3 separate regions of the Homo sapiens genome follow, and all the other regions are linked to region 1. Evidence: promoter capture Hi-C in 16 types of primary human blood cells and fetal thymus (Javierre and others, 2016). All regions are on one chromosome and are shown on one strand. Each heading gives the region's core, a stretch centred on a gene start or on the middle of the fragment in contact. The rest is flanking DNA. Distances are from core to core; before and after follow the strand shown. Region 1 holds the start of ZDHHC9 (zDHHC palmitoyltransferase 9). Region 2 overlaps XPNPEP2 (X-prolyl aminopeptidase 2). Region 3 overlaps UTP14A (UTP14A small subunit processome component).

Region 1 (5,079 bases), core at 1,941-4,440:
GTGTGTGTGGGGAGGAGGGCAAAGTGACATGACAAGTTTGAGGCTACAGAAAATAGAGAATAAAGGAGCTATCATGAGCTCAAAAGCAGGATGGGGGCTGATGCTTTATGTCTGCTCCTGGATGTAGTACTGAATGGGTCTCCGGGTGGTTACAGAAGAGTCTTTGAAGCAACACTAACAGGAAAGCTTCAACCCAGTGGTGGCACTCAGGATCAAACAGCACATTACACCTACACCTACACACGCCTACACACACACACACACACACACAAACACACACACATGAAGAATAAATGTGGAGACAGGTATTTTTAAACAAATACTCCAGAACATACATGATAACACAAGGAGCTGTCTTATAAACTGGAAGGCTATACCTTGATTTTTGTGGTGTTTCTAGTGCTCATCACATGACTATAACCCCTTTTCTTCTCTCTCTTTCTTTCTTTCTTTCTTTCTCTCCCTCTCTCTCTCTCTCTCTCTCTCTTAGATGGAATCTCGCTCTGTCGTCCAGGCTGGAGTGCAGTGGAGCGATCTGGGCTCATTGCAACCTCCGCCTCCCAGATTCAAGTGATTCTCATGCTCAGCCTCCTGAGTAGCTGGGATTACAGGCACCTGCCACCATGCCTGGCTAGAGATAGGGTTTCACCATGTTGGCCAGGCTGGTCTCAAACTCCTGTCCTCAAGTGATCTGCCTGCCTTGGCCTCCCATAGTGCTGGGATTACAGACGTGAGCCACTGTGCCCGGCCTATAACCTCTTTTCAAAAGAGCCAACACTGACTTGGATGTAAAAAGTGGGAAGTCTGTTGAAAAGAGAAGAGAAAAGAATAGGAAAAAACAGTCTCAGTTTATAGTCACAATTTAGTTGTGTGTGTGTATTAAGACTTTAAGGATTATATAAAATGATGTAACTACATAGGAGGAAGTACTATGGGATGTTTGTCCACATAAATTTTCCTTATTTTTCTTTGAGTGTTGAGAATAAATAATAACAGATTGTAATAAAACAAGCCTGACTCACATAGCCACTTAGTCCGAGAGGGAATGTGACCCAGAGCAGGGAGGGACAGAGCTCAGGAATGTGTCACCATGACACATCGATTCCAGGACTCCTCAGGCTTCACCTGCACCTGAGCTATGGACAAAATATGTTTGAGTGCTACAGAGGCTTATTTTTCACTGCTCCATAGTCAGAAGGATGGCAGCTGGGGTGACCATACTATTCCTAAGGGCATCTGATATACATAGGCTTGGAAATCCACAGGGCTGATGAGGTTTAGGGAAGTTCTTCTCCCTCCCATACCAAGTGTGTGCAATACCAGCACCCTCCAGAATTCAAAGCGGGAGAATTGGAGGCAATGATACTGATCGTACACTTCATGAGGAATAAACTGTTGATCATAATCAGCATGAGTGCTAAGGAACAATGGAAGCTTTATAAAGACAAACCTTCCTTTGCAAGTTAATTACAACACATCTCAGAATTACCTAGTGTTTTTTAAATCCTTTAAGAATTTTGAAGGGTGCCATGAAAGTGTCAAATGTAATTATTATGTAGCTTTTTGTTTCATATTGTGTGGGACACATATACTGTAAAGGAAAAATAGTTCTTGACCATGTATGTGGTCCTTCAACTAACATACAACTGCCTTAGGAAGAGCTTTGGCAGTCTCTTCTGTACTAATTCCAAATACCAAATCTCTAAAACTTTGAAATTTTTATCACGCTTAGGAAAACCTAGGCTGGTAATGTAGGCATTCTCCTCCAATCTTCAACCTTTTCTCTTATCTCCTCTTACACTTGGAAAGGAGATGCCACCTTCAACCTTTTCTCATATTTCCTCTTATATTTGGAAGGCAGGAGCCATACTGGTGAAAACAGACCTAGTGTCTTTTAAAGTCACCCTATAGTATAATACTGTGGTTCTCAATTGTTTCCCCCCTTCAATCTCAAACTTTTTTTTTTTTTTTTTTAAGACAGGGTCTCTCTCTGTCGCCCAGGCTGGAGTGCAGTGGCATGATCTTGGCTCACTGCAACCTTCACCTCCTGGGTTCAAGTGATCCTCCTGCCTCAGCCTCCCTGGTAGCTGGGACTACAGGCGAGTCCCACCGCTCCCCGCTAACTTTTGTCTTTCTAGTAGAGACGGGTTTTGCCATGTTGGCCAGGCTGGTCTTGAACTCCTGACCTCAGGTGATCCACCTGCCTCGGCCTCCCAAAGTGCTGGGATTACAGGCGTGAGCCACCGCGCCCAGCCCAATCTCAAACTTTTAATGCATGCAACTCACTCGGATCAGTAGCAGTGGCTCATGGTGGCAGTAATGCAGAGCTGGGTGGCAGAAGGAAAAAATCAATCTGGTTGGTGGGTGGGAATTCTGCCTTGGATTCTCCCCTTAATCATCATAAGCTTTCCAAACCGAATAAAAATTTACAACCTTTTTGGCAATCTTTACTTCATTACCTACCTGGAAGAATTTATGTCCTCAGTGGAGTTTCTTTAACTCCATTAATGTCAATTAGTTGTTTTAGGTGCTGCAAAATGATAATACGTTCTTGGGGACATTTATCCTTTACAACATGCTTTTTATGCTTGTTTGTGTGTTTTGATTTGAAAGACTTAGAGATGCAGGCTAGGGTGACTGGGACAGATATGGGGTCCCTGGCTACTGAATGAGACTTGGGAGGCAGATGACTTGTTTTTATGCCGATAAAGAGTAAAATCTCAAGTTGCGGTTGATTTTAAAATGCAAGCAGGGCTGGAGAGGCCCATGGCAGACCTAGTTTGGGGTGAGCACCCGGATCTGTGAGCTAGTGTTGCTTCAGCATCTCACTGTGTGTGTGTGTGCGCGCGCGTGTGTGTGTGTGCGCGCGCGCGCGCGTGTGTGTAGGCTGGTTCCACCCTTTGCTGTCCCATCGGCACTACCCTTAACCTCCGTCTCTGCGTAACTATATTAATAGAAGGCAACACTTCACATACTGGCGCTCAGACCCCAAAGAGAGGCTGGCAGTGGCTTGGCAGGTGGGCATGCAGCAGGGAGATGGGTGGAGGAGTGGGCGGAGGCATCGTCGAGTGGCGTTAGGCAAAACCAATGGCAGTTCGGGATAGGGGCGGCCGGGGCGGAGGCGCCGAGGCCGATCGGCCAATAGAGGGCGAGCAACTACTGGAGCGACCTGGTGACGTGAGGAGCGTTCCATTTGGCCAGTGGTGGGCGGTTGCCACAGCTGGTTTAGGGCCCCGACCACTGGGGCCCCTTGTCAGGAGGAGACAGCCTCCCGGCCCGGGGAGGACAAGTCGCTGCCACCTTTGGCTGCCGACGTGATTCCCTGGGACGGTCCGTTTCCTGCCGTCAGCTGCCGGCCGAGTTGGGTCTCCGTGGTTCAGGTAACGAGGGGTGGGGGCGGGGGTCTCCTGGGCTCGGCTGCAGGGTGGGCTGCCTCCCCTTCCGCGGCGCCTGGAGGCGGGGACGTCGGCACCGCCCTTCTCAACTCGGCAGCCGCCGAGCCCCTGGCCCGGGGTGACTACACGTGGCGGGGCGTGTGTGAGTGTGTACGAGCGTGTGGCTGCGTGTGCGTGTGGATGTGGCGCGCGTCCCAACCTGCCTGGGGCGGTGGTCCGCGGCGTGGCGGAGTCAGGGCGGGCCTCGAGAGGCCGCGCCCGCGGCTCGGCCCCGGACTCCGGCCTCCGGCCTCCGGCCCCCCGCTGGGGAGCCGGTCGCTGCTTCCCGACGGATTTTGATCTTTGTTCTTCCAGGCCGGCTCCCCCTTCCTGGTCTCCCTTCTCCCGCTGGGCCGGTTTATCGGGAGGAGATTGTCTTCCAGGTTAGTTTTACACAAAGGACGGGTTCTCTGCACCTCTGGGCCCCCCTCCCCTTCCCCGAACCTTCTACCTTCTCGTTTCCCTGCTCCGCTCCTAGGCTGTTTTTGGACCTTTGCCCTCTCCAGCCCGCGAGTTGGCTGTTTCTCCCTCCGTCCGTCGGGCTGCAGGCTTCCGCCTCAGTCCTGCCAGCGTGGGGCATGTGGTGTCGGTAAATAGAGGCCACAACACCACACCTGAGCGGAGGAGAAGGGTAGCAGAGGCTGAGAAACTCTGGGCCTGGGAATTCAGGATGCTGAGTAGAGATGGTACTTAGGACATGTCCCAGAAAGCGCCCTTGTGACTTTTCTTAGCTGCTGCCATTCCCCACCCCCCAACCAGCCATCAGCAGTCACCAACCATTCCAGAATCTCTCCTGCTTAAGTCAGCCTTTCACCTACAGGTCTCTGATGTGGTTTCATTAAGATTCTCACAAATGTTAGGCTAGACCAGCCAGATTGTTTCATTTCCCGGACTCAGGAAGTTGCAGAGGGTTTGATGAGGGGAAATCTGTTTTGTGTAAATACAATGCACGTATGTGCACAGAGCGTCCAGAACCTCCTGGCCCTGCCAGAGGGTGACTTGTTCCCTGCTGTGATTCATATTCGAGTGGCTAATTGAAGAAAGAAGGTGAAGTGGAGGAAGGGAGGGAGGTTTTATAAGGACAGAAACTCTACTATTATTTTTAGAGTCCTTTTAATGATGTTGAAAGAACACTGTGGCATAGTGGAACATGCCCTTGACTGGAAGTTAGCAGTATCAGCATTGCTGCTGTGTGGTCCTGGATAAGTTATTTCCTCTCTCTGGTCCTCAGTTTACTCATTTACAAAACAAAGTATTAATAATTGGCACGATCACCTATAAAATCCTCTCTAGTTCCAAGGTTCTGTGATGATCAGATCATCAGCATTAGATTGGAAGCATAGAGGCTTATTTAAGAAGAAATACTAGCCCCTTTCCTTTTTTGAGAACCTTTTATCATACCTTCTTTTAGAGAACAAACACGAATTGGAAATAAACTTTTCCCACTTCCCCGTCCCCACCCCTTCAGTCAGTTTTCAACTTTCTGTCTCTGGGAAAGGAGGGTTGAACTGTATTTTCTTATTATTGCCTCATTTTTTTTTCTTTTTCTGCTTTTTCTTAGGGCTAGCAATTGGACTTTTGATGATGTTTGACCCAGCGGCAGGAATAGCAGGCAACGTGATTTCAAAGCTGGGCTCAGCCTCTG
Region 2 (5,079 bases), core at 1-2,500, 93 kb after region 1:
AAGCCATACCTAATAGAAGAGTCTGTGAGCAGCGTGTAGGAATAGAAGAAGGGGTTATAGGGGATGTCACTGGCTCGAAGGTTGAAGAGCCCTGGGAAGAGAATTGACAAGGAATATTTAATGCTGATCTGCCTGAGGCAAGCTTTTCTTTTCCTCTTTTTTTCCTTTCCTTCCTTCCTTCTTTCCTTCCTCCCTTCCTTCCTTCCTTCCTTCCTTCCTTCCTTCCTTCCTTCCTTCCTTTCTTTCTTTCTTTCTTTCTTTCTTTCTTTCTTTCTTTCTTTCTTTCTTTCTTTCTTTCTTCCTTTCTTTCTTTTTCTTTCTTTTCTTTCTTTTTTGACAGTATCTTGCTCTGTCACCCAGGCTGGAGTGCAGTGGCAAGATCTCACTGCAATCTCCACCTCGCAGGTTCAAGCAAGTCTCCTGCCTCAGCCTCCCAGGTAGCTGGGTTTGCAGATGCCTGCCACCATGCCCAGCTAATTTTTGTATTTTTAGTAGAGACGGCGTTTCAACATGTTGGTCAGGCTGGTCTTGAACTCCTGACTTCAGGTGATCCGCCCACCTTGGCCTCCCAAAGTGCTGGGATTACAGGCGTGAGTCACCGCACCCGGCCAGAGGCAAGCATTTCTGACACTTTTGCCCCACTGTTTCCTTTGGCCTCCAAAGATTACCAACAGCATGCTTGTATCATCTACCTCTGCATGTTACTCAATCTTTTTGCCGGGGGGGGGGGGTGGGGGAGTGGGCGTCTTTGAGATGCTGTTGAGAGTTATGGATCTTTTCCCCCCAGAAAAATGCAGATACTTAGCAGTCAGCACACAGTTCCAGTGGGTCCCTGGAATATCTGAAGCCCAGCCATAGGGATCAGACAAGAAGTCCTGAGCCATGTCGGAAAGAGTAGAGTCCCACTGGGTGCTAAAGCTGGGAGTGTGAGTGCCCTGGGGTAGTGGCTAAGTTGTTGGGAGGCATTTCCTGGTCCTCCTCCCCTTAGTGGGACAGAAGCACTTTGCTGCCATAGTCAGTTCGTTCCTCTGGTGGCCTGTGGGCTGGTCCCAGCTTGCTCAGGGCTACCTTTTGTCCTTTTTCTGAAGCCATGAGCTCCTGCCCCCTTACCCTTCTTGGTTCCCACGGGCTGTGGCCATGGAGTTCTCAAGAATTGGTGGGCACATGGTTATTTGGGGAAGAGCTAGCTCTGTGCTGCAGGGCCCGGGAGGCTTGGGGCATTGGGGAGACCCAGGCGCCCACCCATGTCTGCAAATCCACACTCACAGGCCGTCTCCTCAAGCGCCGACAGAAGGACGGCAGTCGGGACCTTTTGATGCTTCTGCATCTGGCTTCGGACGCCAGATACTTTCTCCTGCCAAGTGCTCCCTAGAAGCAAAGGAGCCCCAAAAAAGTGTAAGTGACAGACCTTGCCTTTGGCACTCGGTTCCTGGAAGGTCAGCCTTAGGGTAACAGTTTTGCATCCTCTTAAAAAGCAGCGAAACCCTTTCCTCAAACAAACTCTTACTTGTGTACTCATTAATGACATGGGCCCTGGACCCAGATGGGGCTCAAATCCTGGCTTTGCCATTACTGGATGGGTGACCTTGGGCAAATTACCTAACCCCTCTGTGTTCCATTTTGCACATTTGTAAAATGGGGATGGAGTATAATAAGCATCTGCCTCAATAGGGCTGCTATGAGGATGGAATGAATTAATATTTGTAAAGCACACAGAATGGTATCTTGAGATGTAGTAACTCTTGTATCTTTCTGATTAATAAATAATCATGCAGACTGAGATCAAGAGAGCAGTCCTAGTTGAAGGACAAAGGGGTAGGGCTGGGGCCGTGTTCAACTTTCTCTGCAGTAACCCCAGTATTTACTAAGCCACGGGTACTGGGCTAAGCACTCCATGTGCATTGTTCTAATTCTTACCCATCCCATTTTACAGATAAGGAAACTGAGGCTTCAGAGAGGTAAAGTGACTTGTCTAGGGTTTCATGGATGCAAGAGGTAGAGCTGGGATTTGAACTCTGGTCTGTCTGACTGCATGGCCCACGCTCTTAATCTGTACAGACACCGTACTGTCTTGATAACATTCTCAGTCTCCAAATCTGTCCTTAAACTCTGTGTCACAGCACCGTCCTTTCTCAGATGCTTATATCTGGGTTCTATGACTTTAGTTTTCATCTTCTATCCCTGCCCCCTGCAAGATATTCAAAGAGTCTACCCCTAGGCAGGACTAGGAGTTTGCTGGCCGAAGGCCATAAACATTAAGGGTCCTAGTTGGGTTCAGATATGAGCATAAATAACTTAATGTCGTGAAAAATATTTCATGTGAACAGGTAAAACTATTCAACAATGACCAAAGCTTTGGGTACAATACATTTTTGTAGGTTTATTTTACTACATATTTTACACATAATTTATGTTATGTGTATTTTACACATAACATAAAACATATCATTTTAATCTTTTTAAAGTGCACAATTCAGTGGCTTTCAGCATACTCACAATGTTGTGCAACCATCGCCACGATCTAATTCTAGAACATTTTCTTCATCCCCAAAGGAAACCCTGTACTCACTAAGGAGTCACTCCCTATCCCCCCTCCCCTGAGCCCCAGGAAATCCCTAATCTATTTTCTGTCTCTATGGATTTGCCAGTGCTGGATATTTCATACAAATGGAATTGTACAATATGTGGCCTTCTCTGACTGGCTTCTTTCACTTGCAATTATGTTTTCAAGGTTCAGGAATATGATACCTTTCTGAGAAACCAAATGAACCCAAATTTCAATGGTCTGGTGCGTACAGGTATGTTTGAGTAGCGAACTTTTCATGTTCTGCCCTTTGCACTCTCCTTTCTCCTTTAAAATCTGCAAGTGGCTGGAAAGTCTCTCTCGTCTTTATAAGCTTATTGAAGCTGAACTCTGTTCTTCGGCTTCCAAACTCAAGCTCCAGGTGCCTTTTTCTTGAAGACTGGCAGCGGGTGATGACTCGGCATCCCCTCACTTTTGGGAAGTGACAAAACCCTTCCAGCCCCAGGAAGGTTTTTCTTTTTTCCCTTCCCCTTCCCGACATAACTTTGACTTTCTTTATCTGAATAAGATGAGTTTTATTTATGATTTAACAGTCTTGGATAACAAATTTCTTTAAAAATGGTGTCAAGATGCAGAAAGAATGATTCTGGAAGTTACATCAGAACAGATAAAGAAAAATGGACACAATTTTCACTTGTTTCGTCATGGCTGCTATTTTGAAATCTCCCTCCTGCTGTATTGGCTCCTTTCTAAGTGAGAAATTATGTGGACTTGCATGCGGAAAGGGATCTCTTGGCTTGATCAATGTTACTAGGAATCCAAGTTCATTGGCTCATTCAGAATTCCCAGGGAGATAGGACTGGTTGGTGGCCAAGACACTGATTCATAATCAGTAGGCTGGTCCTGGTCAGGACTTTAGTTACGACTTACAGGAATCTTACAACATACTGTTCTTTTGTGATGGATTTAGATAGTGTCAACGGGGTCAAGGTTATTGATGTTATATTTTTCTAACCTTCCTGATTGGTCCAGCAAAACCTGAACTGTAATCTGTGCTACAGAATGACTCTGAACTTAGTTATTTACTTCCTCTGTCCACTCCTGGCCCACCTGACCCCAGCCATCTCACAAATCTAAATTCTTCATCACAAGAGGGTCAGAAGTAAAGGTCTGAATGATTCATTATGGATCAGTCTCTGCCACCAGGCAAGCAAATCATATCATGATTTTTTCTCTCTTGAAAGGGGTTGGATATTTTCTCTCATCTTTCTCTGTTTCCCTTCTTTCCTCCCTTCCTGCTCCATCTTGTTTCAAATCCTAACATTCTTTAACCCAACATTTTCTAAATATGGCCGGAGGACATTTTGATTCAGACTCCTCAAGGGGAGGGGGCCCTGAAATCTGCATTTTAAACAAGCATCCCAGGTGACTCAGGTGCATGCTAAGGTTTGCAAACCACTGCTTTGGTACCTCTGATGATGAAGTTTGCCACCTACGGAATAGCAGCCGGGACCTGCGTTGCTACAAGTTGGGAAGGAAACTGGGCTTACTGAATCACCTGTGAATGCCTCCTGCAGGGCATAAATGGGTTGATTTGGAACCGGTGGCCTCTCTGATCCCCATACCAGGTCCACAAGATTGGTTGTGATGGACACCAGCTGTCTGTTAGAGCCTTGGAGGGCCAGATCATAACTCTCCCAGGTGTCTGCAGAGACAAGAAGGAGTCACTTGTCCCTTGCCCATTTACACCCCAGGAAAAAATTGTGATTCAGGCAAAGTTAGTCCTGGTTCCCTTTGCCTCCCTTTGCAGCCCAGCTGCCCGGAGCCTGCCCCAGCAGCCTGCCCACCCCCCACCCCCGGCATGTATGCCCACGCTGGGGTATGTTTCTCATCCTCTTTCTGCTTTCCAAGCCTAATGCCCTGAGCCTACTCTAACACTGACTGCCACAAATTGGCTAAGCTTGTCTTTTTCATTGCCAGTGGCTGTGGGTGGTCCTTCTCTTGGGCACTAATTATTTTATCAGGGCTTCAGTGTCACAGTCAAAAGGAATGGTGATGTTCAGGCCATTGGACAGGCTGGCAGAGAAGCCAGTTCTAAAGCACAAGCCTTTCAGTACATATTCATGAGGACTCCCCTTTGGGGGAATGGGCTTGCCAGCTGTCTGAGGCCCCAGAACTCCGGGAGTTGTATTCTCAGGGGCCCTTTTTTTTTTAAACTCAGAAGCCCTCCCAACTCTTTTGACCCTTCTAAGCTACCTTCCAGAAGAGGGTTACCATGTGATTCCAGCATCATCATTGGCAGGGTTCCAGGGCACAGAGGATGGTTCTGGGTTCAAGCACATCCTGGCCTATTCATCCACTAGCTCTTTAATGATTCACTGAGTCTTCTAGGTTGGGTCTCTGCACTCATGAATTTTAAAATATTTGTACTGATTCTTTTAAATGTATTTTAATTACACAATCCATGAATACATCCTCATTGCAAAACATTCTGCAACTACAATTTCAAATGCTCTATCTTTATAGTCCCACCGCCCCTCCTTCTACCAAGGTCC
Region 3 (5,079 bases), core at 1,614-4,113, 82 kb before region 1:
GGATTGATGTTTTAAGGAACCCGAATCCTGAACTCTACCAGGCCGTTACACTTAGTTTCATCTTTTTTTTTTTTTTTTTTTTTTTTTTGAGATGGAGTCTCGCTCTGTCTCCCAGGCTGGAGTGCAGTGGCGTGATCTCGGCTCACTGCAAGCTCCGCCTCCCAGGTTCACACCATTCTCCTGCCTCAGCCTCCCTAGTAGCTGGGACTACAGGGGCCTGCCACCATGCCTGGCTAATTTTTTTTTGTATTTTTTTTTTTAGTAGAGATGGGGTTTCACTGTGTTAGGATGGTCTCGATCTCCTGACCTTGTGATCCACCCGCCTTGGCCTCCCAAAGTGCTGGGATTACAGGTGTGAACCACCATGCCCGGCCCACTTAGCTTCATCTTCTTTTGGCACCACAGAATGTAGAGCTGGAAGGCCCTAGATATTGACAATGGTCATCTCCCTTGGCCTGAAGATTTGGCTTAGAGGGGGGAAGTGATGGACCTAAGTAAATGAGGAGCAGCATTGGAGAACAGAACCCAAAGCTCCTGTTTCCTTGCCTGGTACTCCTCCACCACATTGCTACCTTCAGACATTAAATAATCTTTCAACACTTCCCCAGTGGCCAAAGGAGGAAAACACGTAAGCAGAAAATGGGGATGTAAAAATCAGTAGTCTTTGGCAGGGTACGGTGGCTCACACCTGTAATCCCAGCACTTTGGGAGACCGAGGCAGGCAGATCACTTGAGGTCAGGAGTTCAAGACCAGCCTGGCCAACATGGTGAAACCCTGTCTCTGCTAATAATACAAAAATAAGCTGGGTGTGGTGGCGCATGCCTGTAATCCCAGCTACTCAGGAGGCTGAGACACGAGAATAGCTTGAACTTGGGAGGTGGAGGTTGCAGTGAGCTGGGATCGTGCCACTGCATTCCAGCCTGGGTGACAGAGTGAGACTCCATCTGAAAACAAAACAAACAAACAAAAATCAGTAGTCTCTGGAAACATTCAGTGGAATACTCAAGAGAAGCTAAGTACTATCAGGTGGTCCTGGTAGTAGCAAAGGAAACAGATTCTCTTTAAGTTAAGGGAATGTCTTATTTGGGTTGACGGCTACATCTGTGCTTGTCAACCAGGGCAACAGAAAAAGAGAACACCTGGACAAAGTATTCAGTCTCAGAAGTCCCCCCTAGGCACCTTGAAGCACTTTATTCTACTGCATGTTGGAACCTGCAGTAACTTATTAAAAAGATGAAAATCAGGGGAGATTCCTAGAAAACTATTTGTCAGTTTGCCATGACTGTATTAAAAAAACAAACAGACCCCTGGAAGGGAAGGGTGGTCTTTATTGAGCTCCATACTCTACCCATCACCTGGAATCCTGGCCCACTGAAGCACCCTTTCCCCCCTTCCCTTATCGTGTAACTGCCTATTTTCTAGTTATATAGGTTTAATTGGGACTGCAGTAGTTATGATTCAGTTTCTGCAGTGATTGGTTCACAAAATAAGATCAAAAAGAATGTTATTGAAATGTGTATCTTCTTACCTCTGTTCTGTAGCCATTAATTCTTTATTCCTTCCGAGGGAAAAATGTAACTCATTTCAATATACTGGCTGGGGACAGATCTCAGAATTGAAGGGAACATAAAGGTCATCTAGTCCAATCTCGTTCTTGAGTCCCCTTTACACATTCTCATACTCCCAGAGCAGCCTTGAATTCTGTATGTCCTCTAACTTCTACTTTATGTGACTTCATACAATAACCTTCGATATACTTGAACACCGTAATCACGCTCAAATTTTCTTCTCTTGTAAACATCCCTAGCTCATTATCATGTGACACAACTTACAATCTTCTCATTCTCCTGAACAAGTACCGGTTTGTCTTCATTTTTCTTAAGCTACAGCTTAAACCTTATAGCCTCTGTTTGAGCATTACCTTGACTCTAAACTTTTTTCCTGGCCAGTAATTAAAACAGCGTAGTCTATCTGAAATGATAAATCTAACAGCCATTCAGTGAAAACAACAGATTTGATTCTGCGGTCAAGATCACACGTCTCTCTTGACTACAGATCACTAGAATACTCCTCTCAAGCAAGAGAGCCAGGCAGTAACAAGCAGGCAGCTAAAGAGCTCTCTAAGCTCTCACCTGATGAGCAGCTGCGTGGATGTTGCGCTTCTCATTGATAATCACATTTGGCAAATTCTTATCTTTTCTTGGAGGACCCTCAGGGGCTTTAATGAGAAACCTGGAAAGCAAAACAACAGGACATCTGACTAGGAGCATTAAGGACTTAGTCAAAAGGGTAGGGAGGACACCGAAGGGCGAGGGGAGAACCCGGTGCCCTTTTGACAGACTTTCTTCGGCATTCTTACCGGCGTCTTTTCTTGGCACTGGGCTTTAGGCCCACACCACCCCACTCGCCCCAGCCAGGTAGTGTCAGGTCCACGTCCTTTGGCTTACTCGCCTCCACAGCTTCCCTCTTCTCTTTCAAGAAATCTCTGATGACATCATCCCCAGCAAAAGCTTCCTTTATCATCTGCCTATGGTTTCTCTCCTCTTCATCTTCCTGGGAAGAAACAAGCGAGAGCTACAGCTTGGCTTATGAGCTGTGGTTCATGGCGAGAACGCTTGAATTTCGGGTCGTGACATTTTAGCGCCCCCTAGGGGGAAGTGCTGAACAATGATGGTCTTGCGATACAAACCAGTGCACAGCCAATCATGCTCAAATTTTCTTCCCTCTAGGGTAAATATCCCTAGCTCATTATCATATGACACAATTTTAAACTTTTCAGTAAGGAAGCTGCAGGGTGGAGGAAGGAATGGCCCGTGTTAGCAGCAGGAGCTCTAAGTGGCCAGACTGTAGGCTTCCTCCAGCTTATATCCCTGAAAAGACAGGTGCCAGGACGCTTCACTTTAAGTTTCAGATTAACTGGGGAGTCTTAGACCATCTGAGATCCCACTGAATAAAACTTTCGCAACAGTTCAATGACTCACCTTCAAGTTGTCCTGCCTGGGATCTGGTCAGAACTCTGAGTTACTCCCTCTTACCTCTGAGAGCAGTTTTAGAGTCACCCCAGAGGAGTTTTTGTGGATCAGGCTTTCGGAAATAGGGGTCTTGGCAGCACCCATATATCTGCATCTATTAAAACGTCACTGGGACTAGCCTGGCCCTATACTATTCTGGACCTCTAAACTACTGAAATGTGCCCCCAGCAAAACAAAGCTTCATTACTCCTTGCGCAAGAACGACACTTTCTGAACAATGGCCCACCACCCTGGCTCTGCTCACCAGCTCCTCTATTGTGGGAACTGCCAAAGACTTCACGGAGGGAGATTGTGTGGTTAGGAGGTTCTGTAGGTCGATCATTTGCTCCTTCTTTTTCTTCTCCTTAGGGGCATCAGGGCGATTATTTGGGGTCCTCTCTGACTGCTGCCCTTCTAACACAGGTCTGGGAAGCTCCTTATTTTGAAAACATTCTTCTTTTCCCAGCTCTTCTAGCTCTTCCAGCGTCTGTACTCTCTCTGGTCTCTGTAGCAACAGGGGCTCCTCTTCTTCTGGGGCAGGTTCCTCTCTCTGGACCTGGGGAATAGTCCCCTCTGAACTTGCTTTTTGCTTCCTGGACTGATGGTTTTCCTTCAATTTCTGAGATAGTACTCTCAATTCAGACAGCACCTCCTGGCTGCCAGAATCTGGGGGAAAAAAGAATGAAAACTGTCAGAAAATGAGGTTTGTACGTTGTCTGGTCGGTAAGCATTTGTTGAGCACCCACCAAGTGCTAGGTACCACATAAGACATTATAAAAAGGACAAACGGGGAAAAGAAGATTCTGTACATTGAATCTCCTAGACAGTACACTAATCATAGCAGGCAACGGAGTTTGGTAATTAAAAGTAGCATGTGGCCAGGTGCGGTGGCTCACACCTGTAATCCCAGCACTTTGGGAGGCCGAGGCGGGCAGATCATGAGGTCAGGAGATCGAGACCATCCTGGCTAACACGGTGAAACCCCATCTCTACTAAAAATACAAAAAATTAGCTGGGCATGGTGGCATGTGCCTGTAGTCCAGCTACTCAGGAGGCTGAGGCAGGAGAATCACTTGAACCAGGGAGGCAGAGGTTGCAGTGAGCCGAGATTGTGCCACTGCACTCCAGCCTAGGTGACAGAGCGAGACTCCGTCTCAAAAAAAAAAAAAAAAAAAAAGTAGCATGTGAGATGTTGGATATGGTGGCTCACGCCTGTATGCCAGCACTTTGGGAGGCCAAGGGGGCAGGATAGCTTGAGCCCAGGAGTTCGAGACCAGCCTGAACAACATAGTGAGAACTCATCTCTACCACCTCCACCCCTCCAACAACAACAAAAAATTTCCAGGCATGGCGGTGTGGATCTGTAGTCCCACCTACTTGGGAGGCTAAGCTGGGAGGATTGCTGGAGCCAGAAGGTCAAGGCTGCAGGAAGCTGTGACTGTGCCACTGCATACTAGCCTGGGCAACAGGGCAAGACGTCTCAAAAAAAAAAAAAAAGTAGCATATTGGAAGCAGACGTCCTGGGTCCTATTCCCAGCTTTGCCAATGATCCACTGTATAACTGGGACTGTGGCTTAAGTTCCTCGTGCAGTAAACCCTGCTTGGGAAGATTGCCCCAAGTTCCAAATTTTAAAAAAGGAAGCCACTTTAACAGGTGGCTTCTCAATGTAACTTCATTGTAATTTATGCTTCACTGCTTGTAAAAACCCTATCCAGGATTTTCATCTTGACTCAAGAATTTCTACTCCATATCTTAAAGCAGTATTTCATAATCTGCTGTGGCTGAGTCAAGGGATGAAGTAGCTGCTTTATCCAGTGGATGTAGCTCACACTTTCACTGGCAACATCTGAGCAAATAACACTAGTCTCAAGAGTCTGGAGGGGCTGGCTTGGCACAGTGGCTCACACCTGTAATCCCAGCACTCTGGGAGGCCGAAATGGGTGATTCACTTGAAGCCAGGAGTTTGAGACCAGCCTGACCAACATGGCAAAACCCTGTCTCTACTAAAAATACAAAAATTAGCTGGGCGTGGTGGCATATGCCTGTAATCCCAGCTACTTGCAGGC

The links. Contacts are between HindIII fragments. The CHiCAGO score rates a contact against its expected background, and 5 or more counts as called.
Region 2: a contact is called between a fragment that was not itself captured here and the fragment with the promoter of ZDHHC9 in region 1, in 6 of 17 cell types (activated CD4 T cells, neutrophils, non-activated CD4 T cells and 3 more). The highest score is 10.8, in activated CD4 T cells.
Region 3: a fragment that was not itself captured here is called in contact with the fragment with the promoter of ZDHHC9 in region 1 in 13 of 17 cell types (activated CD4 T cells, M2 macrophages, M0 macrophages and 10 more); the score reaches 11.2 in activated CD4 T cells.

The regions. Positions count from the first base shown.
Region 1 is chrX:129,841,997-129,847,075 of GRCh38, reverse strand. It overlaps ZDHHC9 (zDHHC palmitoyltransferase 9), which reads left to right and starts at 3,190. Exons shown (of 11, transcript NM_016032.4): 1 at 3,190-3,380; 2 at 3,750-3,817; 3 at 4,996-5,079. The HindIII fragment of the contact is 4,624 bases long and covers 2,408-5,079 here.
Region 2 is chrX:129,746,757-129,751,835 of GRCh38, reverse strand. XPNPEP2 (X-prolyl aminopeptidase 2) reads right to left here. Exons shown (of 21, transcript NM_003399.6): 7 at 4,083-4,229; 8 at 1,267-1,368; 9 at 10-91. Among named protein-coding and RNA genes, the nearest start is that of XPNPEP2, 10 kb to the right of the region's middle. The HindIII fragment of the contact is 2,211 bases long and covers 145-2,355 here.
Region 3 is chrX:129,923,394-129,928,472 of GRCh38, reverse strand. UTP14A (UTP14A small subunit processome component) reads right to left here. Exons shown (of 15, transcript NM_006649.4): 12 at 3,278-3,678; 13 at 2,361-2,554; 14 at 2,134-2,233. All of the region lies in intron 2 of LOC105373335 (a long non-coding RNA gene), which reads left to right. Among named protein-coding and RNA genes, the nearest start is that of UTP14A, 20 kb to the right of the region's middle. RefSeq lists a silencer at 2,690-2,739. The HindIII fragment of the contact is 700 bases long and covers 2,514-3,213 here.